5 separate regions of the Homo sapiens genome follow, and all the other regions are linked to region 3. The links are contacts of gene promoters, found by promoter capture Hi-C in human tissues and cell types (Jung and others, 2019). All regions are on one chromosome and are shown on one strand. The core of a region is centred on a gene start or on the middle of the fragment in contact, and the rest is flanking DNA. Distances in the headings are between cores, read along the strand shown.

What was found. The method cuts DNA at HindIII sites, captures the fragments that hold promoters and counts their contacts. A contact is called where the count stands out against the background at its distance.
Region 1: a fragment that was not itself captured here is called in contact with the fragment with the promoter of TTR in region 3 in 2 of the 25 tissues and cell types used here (heart right ventricle and mesenchymal stem cells).
Region 2: a fragment that was not itself captured here is called in contact with the fragment with the promoter of TTR in region 3 in 5 of the 25 tissues and cell types used here (H1 embryonic stem cells, aorta, bladder and 2 more).
Region 4: a fragment that was not itself captured here is called in contact with the fragment with the promoter of TTR in region 3 in 1 of the 25 tissues and cell types used here (thymus).
Region 5: a fragment that was not itself captured here is called in contact with the fragment with the promoter of TTR in region 3 in 2 of the 25 tissues and cell types used here (H1 embryonic stem cells and dorsolateral prefrontal cortex).

What each region holds. Positions count from the first base shown.
Region 1 is chr18:31,303,247-31,305,946 of GRCh38, reverse strand. No RefSeq gene overlaps it. Among named protein-coding and RNA genes, the nearest start is that of DSG1, 14 kb to the left of the region's middle. The HindIII fragment of the contact is 5,396 bases long and covers 1-2,700 here.
Region 2 is chr18:31,893,622-31,896,321 of GRCh38, reverse strand. All of the region lies in intron 11 of TRAPPC8 (trafficking protein particle complex subunit 8), which reads left to right. Among named protein-coding and RNA genes, the nearest start is that of TRAPPC8, 48 kb to the left of the region's middle. The HindIII fragment of the contact is 5,022 bases long and covers 1-2,700 here.
Region 3 is chr18:31,590,427-31,593,126 of GRCh38, reverse strand. TTR (transthyretin) reads right to left here and starts at 1,250. Exons shown (of 4, transcript NM_000371.4): 1 at 1,156-1,250; 2 at 101-231. The coding sequence starts at 1,224. The HindIII fragment of the contact is 7,126 bases long and covers 1-2,700 here.
Region 4 is chr18:32,083,906-32,086,605 of GRCh38, reverse strand. It overlaps a transcript of RNF125 not described here. Among named protein-coding and RNA genes, the nearest start is that of RNF138, 6.6 kb to the left of the region's middle. RefSeq lists an enhancer at 1,225-1,354. The HindIII fragment of the contact is 4,077 bases long and covers 1-2,700 here.
Region 5 is chr18:31,858,212-31,860,911 of GRCh38, reverse strand. All of the region lies in intron 19 of TRAPPC8 (trafficking protein particle complex subunit 8), which reads left to right. Among named protein-coding and RNA genes, the nearest start is that of TRAPPC8, 84 kb to the left of the region's middle. RefSeq lists a silencer at 1-20. The HindIII fragment of the contact is 3,368 bases long and covers 1-2,700 here.

The DNA.
Region 1 (2,700 bases), core at 182-2,681, 290 kb after region 3:
TTGTTGTAATAATGAAAAATTCTTGCAACCACAATGTCTATTAGAATAGAATTTAGTCAGAAAATTTGGGTACATTTGTACGGCATAATAAAAAAAATGACAGATCTTTATATATTGATAATGAATGATGTCCAACTTACAGTAAGTGTAAAATCAAGTATGTAGAATAATGGGCCCAATGTGAACACTTGTGTATAAAAATAAAAATATGTTGTGTGGATGTATTTTATATATGCATAGAAGTTTTTTGGAATTATTCACTAAAATCTGTTAACTGAAGAAATAATTGTATGCTTAATTTTCTATTCTTCTGATACATTTCTACAGTTCACTGTTAATAGGCCTTTGTTTTATAACAAAAAGTAAAAATATTTTAAGCTTCATAATTGACTTTCTGGAGTAGTGTACATACATAGTATTGGTGCAGCAACTCAATGAGATGATGTTTTGTCCATCTGAAGATAGAGATGAGGATTAAAAATGCATATATAAAAGTCGTCAGTTTAAAGGTATTAATGAAATCGCGTAAGTGGAGGAAATCATTTAGGGAGAGCTGAAGAGAAAGACATGAAAATATCTGAAGAGCAAACTGGCTTGTCCACATTTGCTTAGAAAGAAGAAGAGTCAGCAAAGGAGACAGAAAGGTGCTTCAAAGAAGTCATAGAACTAGCTCAGTCCAATGTAATTTAAATCAAAGGCAATGCTTCAAGGTAAAAAGTTTCCATATGACTCCTGAAGAGAGGAGAATAGGAAGAGCACTGAAATTCCCCTGACGTTCTTTCCAACTTTCTGAATGTTACTTTTCTGTTTCTTCGCCAGTACATTCTTCTCTAACCACCCATTCAATGTATCGTCACATGAAGCTTGGGTCTGTGTCCCTCTTTCCTGTTTGTTGTCCCTCCCAAAAGTGATCTCATGCAAATAACAACTTATAGATAGATCTATCCGGTCCAGGTCTTTTCTCCTGAACTCCAAACCTATACATCCAATTGCCTACTTGACATTTATCTTGGAAGTTTCAAATACAATTCAAACTCAATGTGTTGGAAATTCATTCTCACCTTCACCAGTGATCACTTCCCAGAAAATAATACCCCCATCTATCTAGTTGTGCAAGAGAGAAGCCCAAGAGATATTATCAACATTCTTTTTTTCCTACCCTTCTATTTTAACCCATCACCAAGGTCTATTGATTTTTTACATCCAAAATATCTGTCAAGTTCATTCACTTTTTTCCATGTTGACTATCACTATGTTAGCCAGGTGATTATTGTCCTTCAGCAGGATTGTTGTAACTTTCTGACAGGCCTGCATCTATGCTGGCCAGCTGCCAATCTGTTTACTACACTAAAGGTGGAAAAATAATTTCAAAGAGCAAACCTAAGCATATCAATCTGTTTTTTAAAAAAAGACACCTCTTGGTAACTTTTAGAATAAAGGGGAAAAAGAGTCCTTCGTCTGGGCTGCAAGGTCCTGCATTGTCTAACACTTGCCCACTCTCCAGTCTCACCTTTTACCACATTCAGTCCAGAAGGAGTTCTTGGGACCCTTGTCCATCTCCTCTTTCACATCTGTCATAGTTGCCAAGTTTACAGGTATTTGTGTGATTATTACTCTCTGTCCTCACTACTAGATTGTTATATCCATGAGAACAAGAAAAACGTTTTAATCAAAACTGTGTTCTTGGAACCTAGCATATAATATTGCTCAATAAATATTTTTGAATTAATGGATAAATGAATGAAAGCAAAGTGGAGTTTCAAGAAGAAAGTGTATGTTTCAATCTTCGTTCAGAGATCTAAGAAGATGGAATTAAATCCTAAAGAAGCCAAGAAATTTGGAAATAGATGATTGTTGGAGAATTCCAGAAACACTTAGAATTATGTGGAGGTGAGCATTGGCAAGAATATCCAAACAGACTATGGGGTATGTTCTGGAAAGGGAAGGAAGCAAAGAATAGATCCCTTATGTGACTAATTCTGAAGAAATGCAGAGTATGACTTCGGAGTCTGTGAGGTCAAAAGACATATGTATTTTTAATACAAGCAAAGGAATGAGATTTTCAGAAGGATAGTAGATTGTGGTCCTAAAACTTTCATATTTGAGTTTAGATGTATAGAAGTAAAATGATTTCCTAAGGCTTAGGGTGTGGCCATGAGAACCGGTGTTGATGATGGTAGGAACTGTACTTTAGAGCCTGTGTACATGCTCCCTGAGAAGTAAAAAGGGCCTTAAAGTGGGGGAGCATGGGTCCCTCCCTCTGCTTCCTAACCATTGCCTGGGATCCAGTGTAAACATAATAAATATTTTGAATTAAATTGAATCAAAGCACTGTTTTTTCAGAAACTCTGCCACTTTAGTTCTTAGAGCATCTCTCTAGACCGTATCTCACAGTTACTGCCGTATAAACTCTACTTCATTACAACTTCTTGAATGAATAATTAGTATTTTTAAAGCCATCTATTTCCTCATCCCTTCATCCCAAGCAGTTATATATATATATATATATATATATATATATATATATATATATATATATATATATATATGTATAGCATTTTTTTCTACTGCTAGGGACTTCAAGAATTACATTGCAGTTGCAGCCAGTAAGCAGCAAATCATTTTTGGCAATTATGGCAAGAGTTACAACAAGAAACAGGTTTTAAAAACATGCTCTGGTTCTTGGGAGGGTTTTTCAAC
Region 2 (2,700 bases), core at 89-2,588, 300 kb before region 3:
TTTACTTCTCTCTCTTTCTTTTGTTGTTGGTTTTTCTTAAACTTCTACTGTTCTAGTTCTCATTCTTAATATTTTCTCTTTGGGACTGCGGCCTTTTTCCTTTTGCTTTGCCTAATTTACTAGTCATGATACCAGTTGTGTACTTCAGATAGTCTTTCCTAATACACCTGTTTGTCCTAAGTGTCTCTGTTCTTCTCTCTCATACAATGCTGTAAAACCTGACTTGTCATATTATATTATATTGGAAATTATGTTTAAGCTTCTTAAGCTGTTAGCTTCTTGAGGGCAGGGAACCGTGTTGCCTTCTGTTTTTATTCTTGTTGCCTAACACTGGCCTTGGCACATGGATTAGATGCTCTACAAGTGTTTGTTGTAACTGAACCATTAATTCTTCTACAAAAGTTTCTGTAAGGTCTAACTAGTTAGGTTCAGAAGTGATATTTAAAATGTTTAATAATTGTTATTGCATGGACACTGACTAATAAATATGAACAGATAACAGACAAACTATTTGTAGAGCTGAATAAGGCTTTTGAGTATTTTGATATTCTCTATTATAATAAATAATCTTAACTTGGATTTGAATGTGTTGCCGTGTTCTTCAACCTAAGGATTATCAGTGAATGTAAAAAGAATTTATGGTTCAGGAGCTTCAATAAAATTCCTTTTTTTCTTCCTTGCTTAAATGATTTCAATATGCCATTCTATCCACATATGTGAATAAAATTTCTTCAGAGCAAGTTCTCCTGTCTGCATTATAACCGTGTTATTTTTTGTCATTTTTCTCTTCTTTCCAACTCTTTGTTTCCACTTTTCTTTCTCAAATCTGGATGATTTGTTTTATCATGAAAGTCTAGAAAATGTATCATTGTTATTTGCTGCCATGTGGTGGGGAGAGGGGGCAGGTGGTGGTGCACGTACCCAGAAATCGTGATTCTTAATGGCCTTTTCTGCTATACCTTTCATAAATTTCTTTGAGATAACTTGAGACTAATGATTATTAGGCATGTTTATAAATTATGTTAAATCTTTACCAACAATTTACATTTACTGTATGTATTTTGTTAACTAGAAAGGCTGTATAATATCAAGAGATGTACACTGGTTTTGAAGCTGGAGAATTGAGTTACATACTCTTGACATTCCTGAGCTGTGTTCCCTAGATTTTTGCTAATACCGTCATAGCAAAAGATAGTTAATGAGGCCTAGGCAAAAGGAGGAGCTGTGCTTTGACTTTGTGTACTGCAAATTTTTGGTCAAGTGAATCATATTTTTTGTTTTATGCCCTGGGATTCTCAGAATGGCAGAGCAAACCCAGTTTAATGGTGAAACATGCTACCTTTATCACCGCATAGGATGTATATGAATTTGGTGCTTAAGACATACCTACTTGTGTCTGTTTCTGTGTTGAACACTTATTCTGGTCTTATAACCCATTTTTTCTGTTACTATTTTAAATATGAAAAATCAGTTTCTAGGGATGCTAATACCAGTTTTTTGTAAGTTTCTTCAGCTTAGGAGTAACTGGTCTTATGGGAAATTTATCAGCTGATAGCACCTTTCCTGTTAACTTCACAAGTATGCAGAGATGAAATCTTAAAAGCTTAGAGCCATCTTTTGTTTGATGTTTGATTCAGTTAATTAGCTGCAACTGGTGGCTTTATCAACTGTGTTTTTATTGAAATGTTAATTGAGGCCTCTACCTCAGGTGATTTTTTTTTTCCTGTACATACTCTCATATTTTAAGTTATTGTTATCTTTTTATCTTTTGTTAAAATTATCTCTTGGTTGTGGAGAATTTTCATAGGCCAGAGTTCTTGTTGAAGTGCTATCAACAGATTTTTTTTTCTTAGTTTCTTATAGAACATAAACAAAACTTGTTATTCGATAGTATGAAATACACCACTGTATTAAAATTGTATCTTTCAGTTCATTTAAAGCCTTTGCTTTCTGGATAAAACCATCACTTTGTAAAAATCCTTTTATTTCTCTTCCATCAACACTGATACCAGTTGTCATTCTTTTCAGGGCAATTTTCCTCCTCTCAAAACAATGTTTTTACCACTTTGGGTGTCACAGTAAGAGTCAGGGTCCAATGAAGAATAAAGCTGGACCAAGATATGAAAACATGGTATTCAGCTCTAGAAACTGATTCTCAGTCAGTCTAGAAACTGATTCTCCACATGCAAGAGTCAAAATTTTGTTTCAGCCAAATTAATACCATGGAAGGCCATGGACTTCCACATCTGCCTTCAGTTGGTCAGTTCTTGAGTGTTAAATTTGGGAATGCTAAGGGTTTCTCATTTTGGTTTTTAACTGGATTGTGCGTTAGAATCATTTGCAAACCATTAAATATTCTCAGGGGATATTCTTAGCTTATGAGAATGTCCAGGATTGCTGCCCATCCAGGTTTTGCAGTTTAGTGAAGCTTCATAGGCAGTAAAAAAGTGTGTGTGTGTATATTATTTTATTTTATTTTTTCGTGTGTGTGTATGTATGCATGCATATGTGCAGTGTGCTAAGAATAGACTTAAGAAATTACAGCACTTAAAAAACTGAACTCTGTTGAGGCCTAAGTGAAATTCTGAAATAGAAACAATAATTAGGGAGAATTACCTATTTTAGATATTAAAATATGGCTATTAAAATATAAGGCTACAGAAAGTAAAACTCTATACAGTGATAAGAATAGACATATTA
Region 3 (2,700 bases), core at 1-2,500:
TGTAAATTCTTTAGCAGATGATGTGAGCCTCTCTCTACCAAGTGAGGGGCAAACGGGAAGATAAAACCAAGTCCTGTGGGAGGGTTCTTTGGCAACTTACCCAGAGGCAAATGGCTCCCAGGTGTCATCAGCAGCCTTTCTGAACACATGCACGGCCACATTGATGGCAGGACTGCCTCGGACAGCATCTAGAACTTTGACCATCAGAGGACACTTGGATTCACCGGTGCCCTGGGTGTAGAGAAGACACGTGAGAAGTTAACAAAATTGATCAGAGTGAAAGGATTTATTCTTTGTGGTATTAGAAATCTGGAGCGAAACAAGAATTACACACTGATCCCATTATCAGGAACGTAAGTGTCGACAATTAATGAGCTTCCCTACTCAGTATAACACAGACGTAATTGTTTCCAAAGCAAGAATGGTTTCTGCCTCCAGACACACTGCTATCAACCAGGGATGTGTATAATGAATTTTAAGGGAGAAAATAGGTCCCCTGAGAACAGTTGCTTTGTTAAAAGTCTCCATTTGAGTGGAATTACTGAAAAGATGTAATGTACCATACATAGGGCCAAACAGGTTTTCCTGAGATCATTTTAGTTGTTGCTATAGTCACTCCCTCTTACCAGTTGTTATAAAATAATGTCAGAACTACATCCAGACCCATTTTATAGTATTAGTTAATTCTTCTAGAGGATTTAAGAATTAGATATCTGACTAGAATATTGTTCACTAAGCCTTTTAAAGATTAATCAATAAATACGTTTTGAATAACTATAGGGCCAGAATATAATCTCCTGCAGTTTGTCCCCCAAATACATTTTATGGAGGGATACTTTTCTGAAAATTCAGTATTAACAGCTTCCTTAATATCATATCTTTATTTCTATCATCTATCTGAGGAAACAGAGGTACCAGATATTACAAACCTAATGCACCAAAGCAATGAGGTAGAATGCTCAGAGTTCAAGTCCCAGCTCAGTAAGCTCAGTGGAACTTCATTCTTTTTGAAGTTTGAATTAATTATATTAAAAATAGATGCTGGGTACCCTTGCCCTAGTAATAAAAGCTGGTTGGCAAAGCTGGAAGGAGTCACTTCTACTTCATTTAGCGTGAATCTTAAATGTAGGAATGGGATGTCACAGAAACACTCACCGTAGGGCCAGCCTCAGACACAAATACCAGTCCAGCAAGGCAGAGGAGGAGCAGACGATGAGAAGCCATCCTGCCAAGAATGAGTGGACTTCTGTGATGGCTGCTCCCAGCCTGGGGCTTTTATACTCACTTCTCCTGAGCTAGGCTGCTTATCCCTGCCAATCTGACTGCAAACCTGCTGATTCTGATTATTGACTTAGTCAACAAAGAGAGAATAAGTAACCCATACAAATATGAACCTTGTCTAGAGAGATTAGAGCATCGGAACATTCGTTCTATGAAATATTCTTAATAGGTCATTTGACCAGTTAGGTCACCAAAACAAAACAACCAAAACAAAACAAAACAATCAAAACAAAACAAAAATAGTCTTCTCCCTGTGTGACTGCGTGCACTAACATTCTTGGGGGTAATTTTTTCCTCCCTCACATATTTCTATGCATGTTTTCCATTTTTATAGATTTTTTGTCTCTCATTTTAGATGCAAGATTTTAGACAGATGCAAGTTGTAATAATGTATTTCATGTTGAATGACATCTAGCTGCACAGGCTTAAATATAGTGCATTAGAAAATGTTTGCACTTGATGGATCCATGGGTCAACAAGGAAAAACCCTTGGCAGTGCTCACATTTTTAAAAGCCTACATTTTAGCCAAACTAAGTCATTTGGAAGCTTTGCTTAGTCAGCAATTTCTCCACAATGTGTGTGTGCATGTGTGTATGTGTGTGTGTGTTCTGCCCAGATAAAGTCCACTTCAATCTAAGAATGGCATCTTCCCTCCCTCCCTTCCTTCCTTCCTTTTTTCCTTCCTTTTTTTTTTTTTTTTTGACAGGGTCTCACTCCAACGCCCTGGCTCGAGTGCAGTGGCACGATCACAGCTCGCTGCAGCCTTGACCTCCCGGGCTCAGGTCATCCTCCCACCTCAGCCTCTTGCCCAGGCTGGTCTCGAACTCCTGAGCTCAAGCAATCCACCCGCTTTGGCCTTCCAAAGTGCTGGGATTACACGTGTGAGCCACTGAGCTGGGCCAGAATGGCATATTTCAACCTGGCATTGATGCCCCTGAAATACAGAGAACCAAATCTTCTTTACTGACTCTTCTGCATTGGGCATGCAGGAACAAGGCTGACAGCTGGTTTTTGACAGAACCAAACTTGCTGGAAGAAAGTAGAGATGACTGTGAGAACCAGAAGCCATGATTGACAGCAGATTCTTTTCCTCCTGGCCGACTTATTAATACAAGTCCAGAAATTATGATGATTTGATGATTCATTACTCACATACAAAGTCTCTGTGTGTATGTGTGTGTGTGTGTGTGTGCGCGCGCACGCGCATGTGTGTGTGTGTCCACTAGCATGCGTGGCTTTGTTCATGGATAAACTAAGGCAGGTTTTTGTCCTTATAAGACAAACATGTAGAAAACATAGAGAAGACAAATATTTTGGACAAATACAAGCCAAGAGCAAGTCCGGTTTGGAGCACTAAGAATTGAGGGAACATTCCCATAACTGATAGAGTCAGATTAGAAAAAATTCAACAAGAAATT
Region 4 (2,700 bases), core at 63-2,562, 490 kb before region 3:
GAGGTTGCGATGCGCTGAGATCATGCCATTGCACTCCAGCCTGGGCAACAAGAGCAAAACTCCATCTTAAAAAAAAAAAATTAGAAATTAGCATGGTGTGGTGGCTCACACGTGTAATCCCAGCTACTCGGGAGACTGAGTTAGGAAGACTGGTTGAGCCTGGGAGGTCAAGGCTGCAGTGAGCCATGATCACTCCACTGCACTCCAGCCTGAACAACAGAGAACCTGTCTCAGAAAAAAAAAAAAAAAACACAAATATCTAGGTGCAGTGGTGTGCACCTATAGTCCCAGCTATTCGAGAGGCTGAGGCAGGAGGATTGCTTGAGCCCAGGAGTCCTACCTAAGCAACACAGCAAGAGCTTGTCTCTTAAAAAAAAAAAAAAAAGACAAATCTACTCCCCCATCTAGATGTTTCTTTGTCTATATGTGCTACGTGGAACTACAAGCAGGATGAAACCATGTAAAGAGCCAGCCGTGAAAAGAAAAGCCAATGTGCTGAAGGTGGTAAAGCTGAAAGATGGAAAGAATATATAGGTTCTTGATATATTAATATTTGAATTATTCAATTACTCTAGTCAACCCTGAAACTGCCCTCCCTCCTATCTGTTAATCAAGATTAATTAAACACCTTCTAGTTTGAGCCATTCTCAGTGGGTTCTTTGGTTATTTGTAGTTGGAAGTATCTGACCTAGGCATTTGCCTTTCTGCATCTCTTTCCCTGTTCTGCCCTTGTTGTTCTGCTCTTTTTGTTGGAGCTGACTCTTATAAACTGTTTCCCAGTTTCCCTTACCAGCTGACTTCTGGCTATATTCAGCCAATACGAGGCACCAATGAGAGATCAGGAAGGAAGGAAGAACGAAACCAAGTTACTTCTCTCTCTCTTTTTTTTTTTTTTTTTTTTTTTTGATAAGTCGTTTCACTCTTGTTGCCCAACCTGGAGTACAATGGTGCAGTCTTGGCTCACTGCAACCTCCACCCCCAGGTTCAAGCGATTCTCCTGCCTCAGCCTCCCAAGTAGCTGAGATTACAGGCACCCGCCGCCACACCCGGCTAATTTTTTGTATTTTTAGTAGAAATGGGCTTTCACCATGTTGGTCAGGCTGGTCTCAAACTCCAGACCTCAGGTGATCCTCCCACCTTGGCCTCTTAAAGTGCTGGGATTACAGGTGTGAGCCCCCTCACCCAGCTTTCTCTCTCTCTCTCTCTCTCTCTCTCTCTCTCTCTCTCTCTCTGCTTCTGGCAGTGGTTTCATTTCTTCTGCGGTTTTGGCTTCTGTGAGGCTGCACTTTCTTTGGTCCTGCTTCCTGCTGGGCAGGCCCTTCCTTTTCTCAATGCCTTGTGTATTTGCTTCACTGTCAACTTGGCCTTTCTGCTCTTTTAATGTCTTTGTAATTAGTTTCCCATATTAATCATCCTCTACTGAACCACCCTTGCAAGCTCCGCTTTCCTGATTGGCCCCTGTCCCAGTTTCCTAGCTGAATCAACAGTTCAGAAGGAGAGGAGAGGCAAGTGACAAAGAAATGCCGCAAAGTGGTTCTTCCTTCCCAAAGACAAGGAACTGGGTTACTTTTCATTGTAAGCTTAAATTCTCTCCTCACACCTCTGCAAAGTAGCTGAAATGGAAGTTCAAAAGTGAGATTAAATTAACTATAGAAAATGAAGGAATTTATCTTTTGAATTCACCCCAGTTTGAGACAGTTACATTTCAACTTCTTCATAAATGTCATTATGAACATGAATTTTCATGACATTTAATTTCATATCATCCATATTTTATGTATTATTATACAGCTTCCATTTTTAACAATGTTCATATGAGTAGCCCCGGTGACCCTGTTTATCCTGTGGAATCTGGCCTCTATGTTACAGTTGATTAGGATAGAGGTGAATATAATCCCAGCTTGTGATAGCCACACTGTGTCTCCCAAAACTGTGGAACTGAGATTCTGATATTCTAGTCAGTCTCTATCAAATCCCTTAATTTGGAAGGCATGTTAACACAGGAGCTGTGGGGCAGCCACCTTCTCCCTTGCCCAAACACACAAATCAGTCAGTAGAAAGAGAGCAAACCAACAATGAAACAGATATTCGGAATGCAGCTAAAGTCACTTCACTGAATAAACTATGCTGTCCTAGGAGGCAGAGCCCTAGAGTAGACCAGTAATGATGAATAGATTTCAACAAATCAACTCACATTTCAACTTTTCTTTGACACTGTTCTTGTTTTTTTGTTTGTTTGTTTGTTTGTTTGGAGACATAGTCTTGCTCTATCCCACAGGCGGGAATGCAGTGGCACTATCTCGGCTCACTGCAACCTCCGTCTCCTGGGTTCAAGCGATTCCCCTGCCTCAGCCTCCCAAGTAGCTGCGATTACAGGCATGCGCCACCAAGCCTGGCTAATTTTTGTATTTTTGTAGAGATGGGGTTTCAGCAAGTCGGCTAGGCTGGTCTCAAACTCCTGACCTCAGGTGATCCACCTGCGTCGGCCTCCCAAAGTGCTGGGATTACAGGTGTAAGCCACCGCACCTGGTCAGTTGTTTTTTAATCTTTGAGAGAAACATTTAAATTTGAAGCTAAAAGATCTTTCTCCATTTCTCTCTCGCTCTTCTCTCCCTTTCTCCCTTTCTTTTTCTTACCTTTTCTCCCTCCCTCTTTCCTTTTTTTCCCTTTTTGTTTTTCCTTTACTCCACATTTTTTTTT
Region 5 (2,700 bases), core at 5-2,504, 270 kb before region 3:
GGATGAAAGCAGTTTACACAATACTTAATTTATGTGAACAAGTTTGGGAATAGATAGTGACTCTTGAAAGGAGAATATGATGGGCATTACAGAAAGCCTAAAGCCACTGATGTTCAGTTCCATAAACATCACTCAGTATTTTCTTGTAAGAGAATAGGGAAGTTGGTTAGTTCAACAAGGTGGTATGATTATGATGGAAGTCAGCTAATAGACCATTTATCATATTTGGACAGACAGTGGAAGACATGAAAACTGGTGAAAAAATTCATAGAATATTCCTGTGCCTAATATTTCAGAAATATTTTATGGAATTTGAGATGTTTAAGGGAATAGTAGAAGTAGTTACCCATCTATACTGTATGATGAAATAATCTGTAACAATATATATTTATCAAACAAGGGTGAGAATGAAAGTTACTGTAGCTCATTGAGAGAAGATAAAAATAAGAGTCATTTGCATACTACTATGTGTATAGCATACTGAACTCAAACAATGAGCTATGTGGATTAGAAATCTTTCCCCCTAAATCTTTTTTTTTTAATACAATTGTTTCTGTTAGGAATAATTTTAACATGTAGAGAAGCAGAGAAAAGAGCAAACTCCTTTAATTTCTTACGCACAAGCACTATTATATATATGTATCATTCAACTAGACCATTTGATTTGTGTCTAGTCATTTTCTGTTACAGGCAAAGCCACAATGAATAATCCTAAGCATGTCATTTTGTACTCACACATGTATATCTTCAGGATAAATTAGAAGTGAGATAGTGAGTTCTTGGTCTTGTTTTCCATTTATATTTGAAGCTATCACAAATATCAACTATTTAAAAGGACTTTCAGCAACTGAGCATTTGAGGTAAAGGCTAAATATACTTGTTCTTTTTTTTTTTTTGAGACGGAGTCTTGCTCTGTCACCCAGGCTGGAGTGCAGTGGCGCAATCTCGGCTCACTGCAACCTCTGCCTCCCAGGTTCAAGCAATTCTCTTGCCTTAGCCTCCTGAGTAGCTGGGATTACAGGTGCGCACCACCATGCCTGGCTAATTTTTGTATTTTTAGTAGAGACGGGGCTTCACCATGTTGGTCAGGCTGGTCTCAAACTCCTGACCTCGTGATCTGCCCACCTCCCAAAGTGCTGGGATTACAGGCGTGAGCCACTGTGCCTGGCCTTGTTCTTCTTAAAGAGTCAAAATAGTGTATTTAGTAAACCTGTGTTCTGAAGGTACATGTGATCCTATACATAGTTGGTACCACTAGTCTTTTATGTGTTCTATCACTGTTACCATTTTACCAATGCTGTAACCTTCTTGATGGTATCTAGGTGTCTCTATGTATTTTAGTGTGTTTTTACACACTGAATACTCTATTTCACTTTTTGTTAATGCAGCTGTGTTGGATGTAATAACAAAATTAATAATTCCTCCACAAGTTTTAGCTCGACTATAAGCTTGACACTGACTAATCAGTACAGAGAGTCAGTGTCTTCAGTATAATGCTATGTCTAGCTTATTTTTTTATCCTATTAAATCTATGTGCGGGATTTCTACATTAATCCCTTGTTTTCTCATTTATTTTTAAAGCTTCTAATGTCCCCAAATTTCATCTGATTTTTTTCTTTTTAAGAATATGGCCATAATGAAGTCCCACTCACATTTAGATTCAAAAACATATTTTCACTGGAATTTCATGAAGTGACTGCCAGCTATAACTTTATTAGAACATTTCACTCATATTGTTACCTTTATCTTCCTGCTTGCTTAGATGTTAGTTGTGACATTTAAATATCTGTTTTTTTGTTTGTTTGTTTGTTTGTTTTTTGAGATGGGGTCTCACTCTGTCACCCAGGCTGGAGTGCAGTGGCACAATCTTGGCTCACTGCAACCTCTGCTTCCTGGGCTCGAGCAGTCCTCCCACTGCAGCCTCCCCAGTAGCTGGAACCACAGGCGTGCGGCTCATTTTTTGTAGTTTTGATAGAAACAGGTCTCACCATGTTGCCCAGGCTGGTTTTGAACTCCTGAGCTCAAGGGATCCACCAACTCTGGGATCCACCAACTCTGGCCTCCCAAAGTGTTGGGATTACAGGCATCAGCCACTGTGCCCAGCCAGTATACTTAAAGATCTTTTAAATGCAGATAACTTACTGTATGATTTCATTAGCCCAAATTTCTGTCTCTTTAAGCACAAGTCCACAATCCCTCATCTGAAATATTGAGGCCACATGTGTGTTGGAAATCAATTTAAAAATTTTTTTTAGAAGTGTGTGTGTGAAGTTATGTAAACCCCATTGCTTTGTGGCAGCACCTAGTAACCAAACATTAATATTTCTTGCATGAACTGTATTAATATCACACTAAATGGGAAAGAATATAAAAAGCCTCTATTAGGTCAGGTTTTGCCCCCACATGAGTTACTAAAAGCCTGAGGTTGGAGTTTTTTGGATTTTAAAATTATGGATATGAAATCATAGATCTGCCCATTCTTTCACTTTAAAACCCATAGTAAATCTGGCATATCTTTTCATCTTGATGATATAGACATAAGTAGTTGAGCTGCTTCTTTAGTTGACAGTTATAAGGGTTATAAAACTGATATTTACTTCATATAGCCGTGTTAAATTACTTTCAACTTTTCTGGTCCATAATCTACCAAGTTGTGAAATTTTGACATGTTAGCCCTCTTGTGTACTGATAGTATACCTT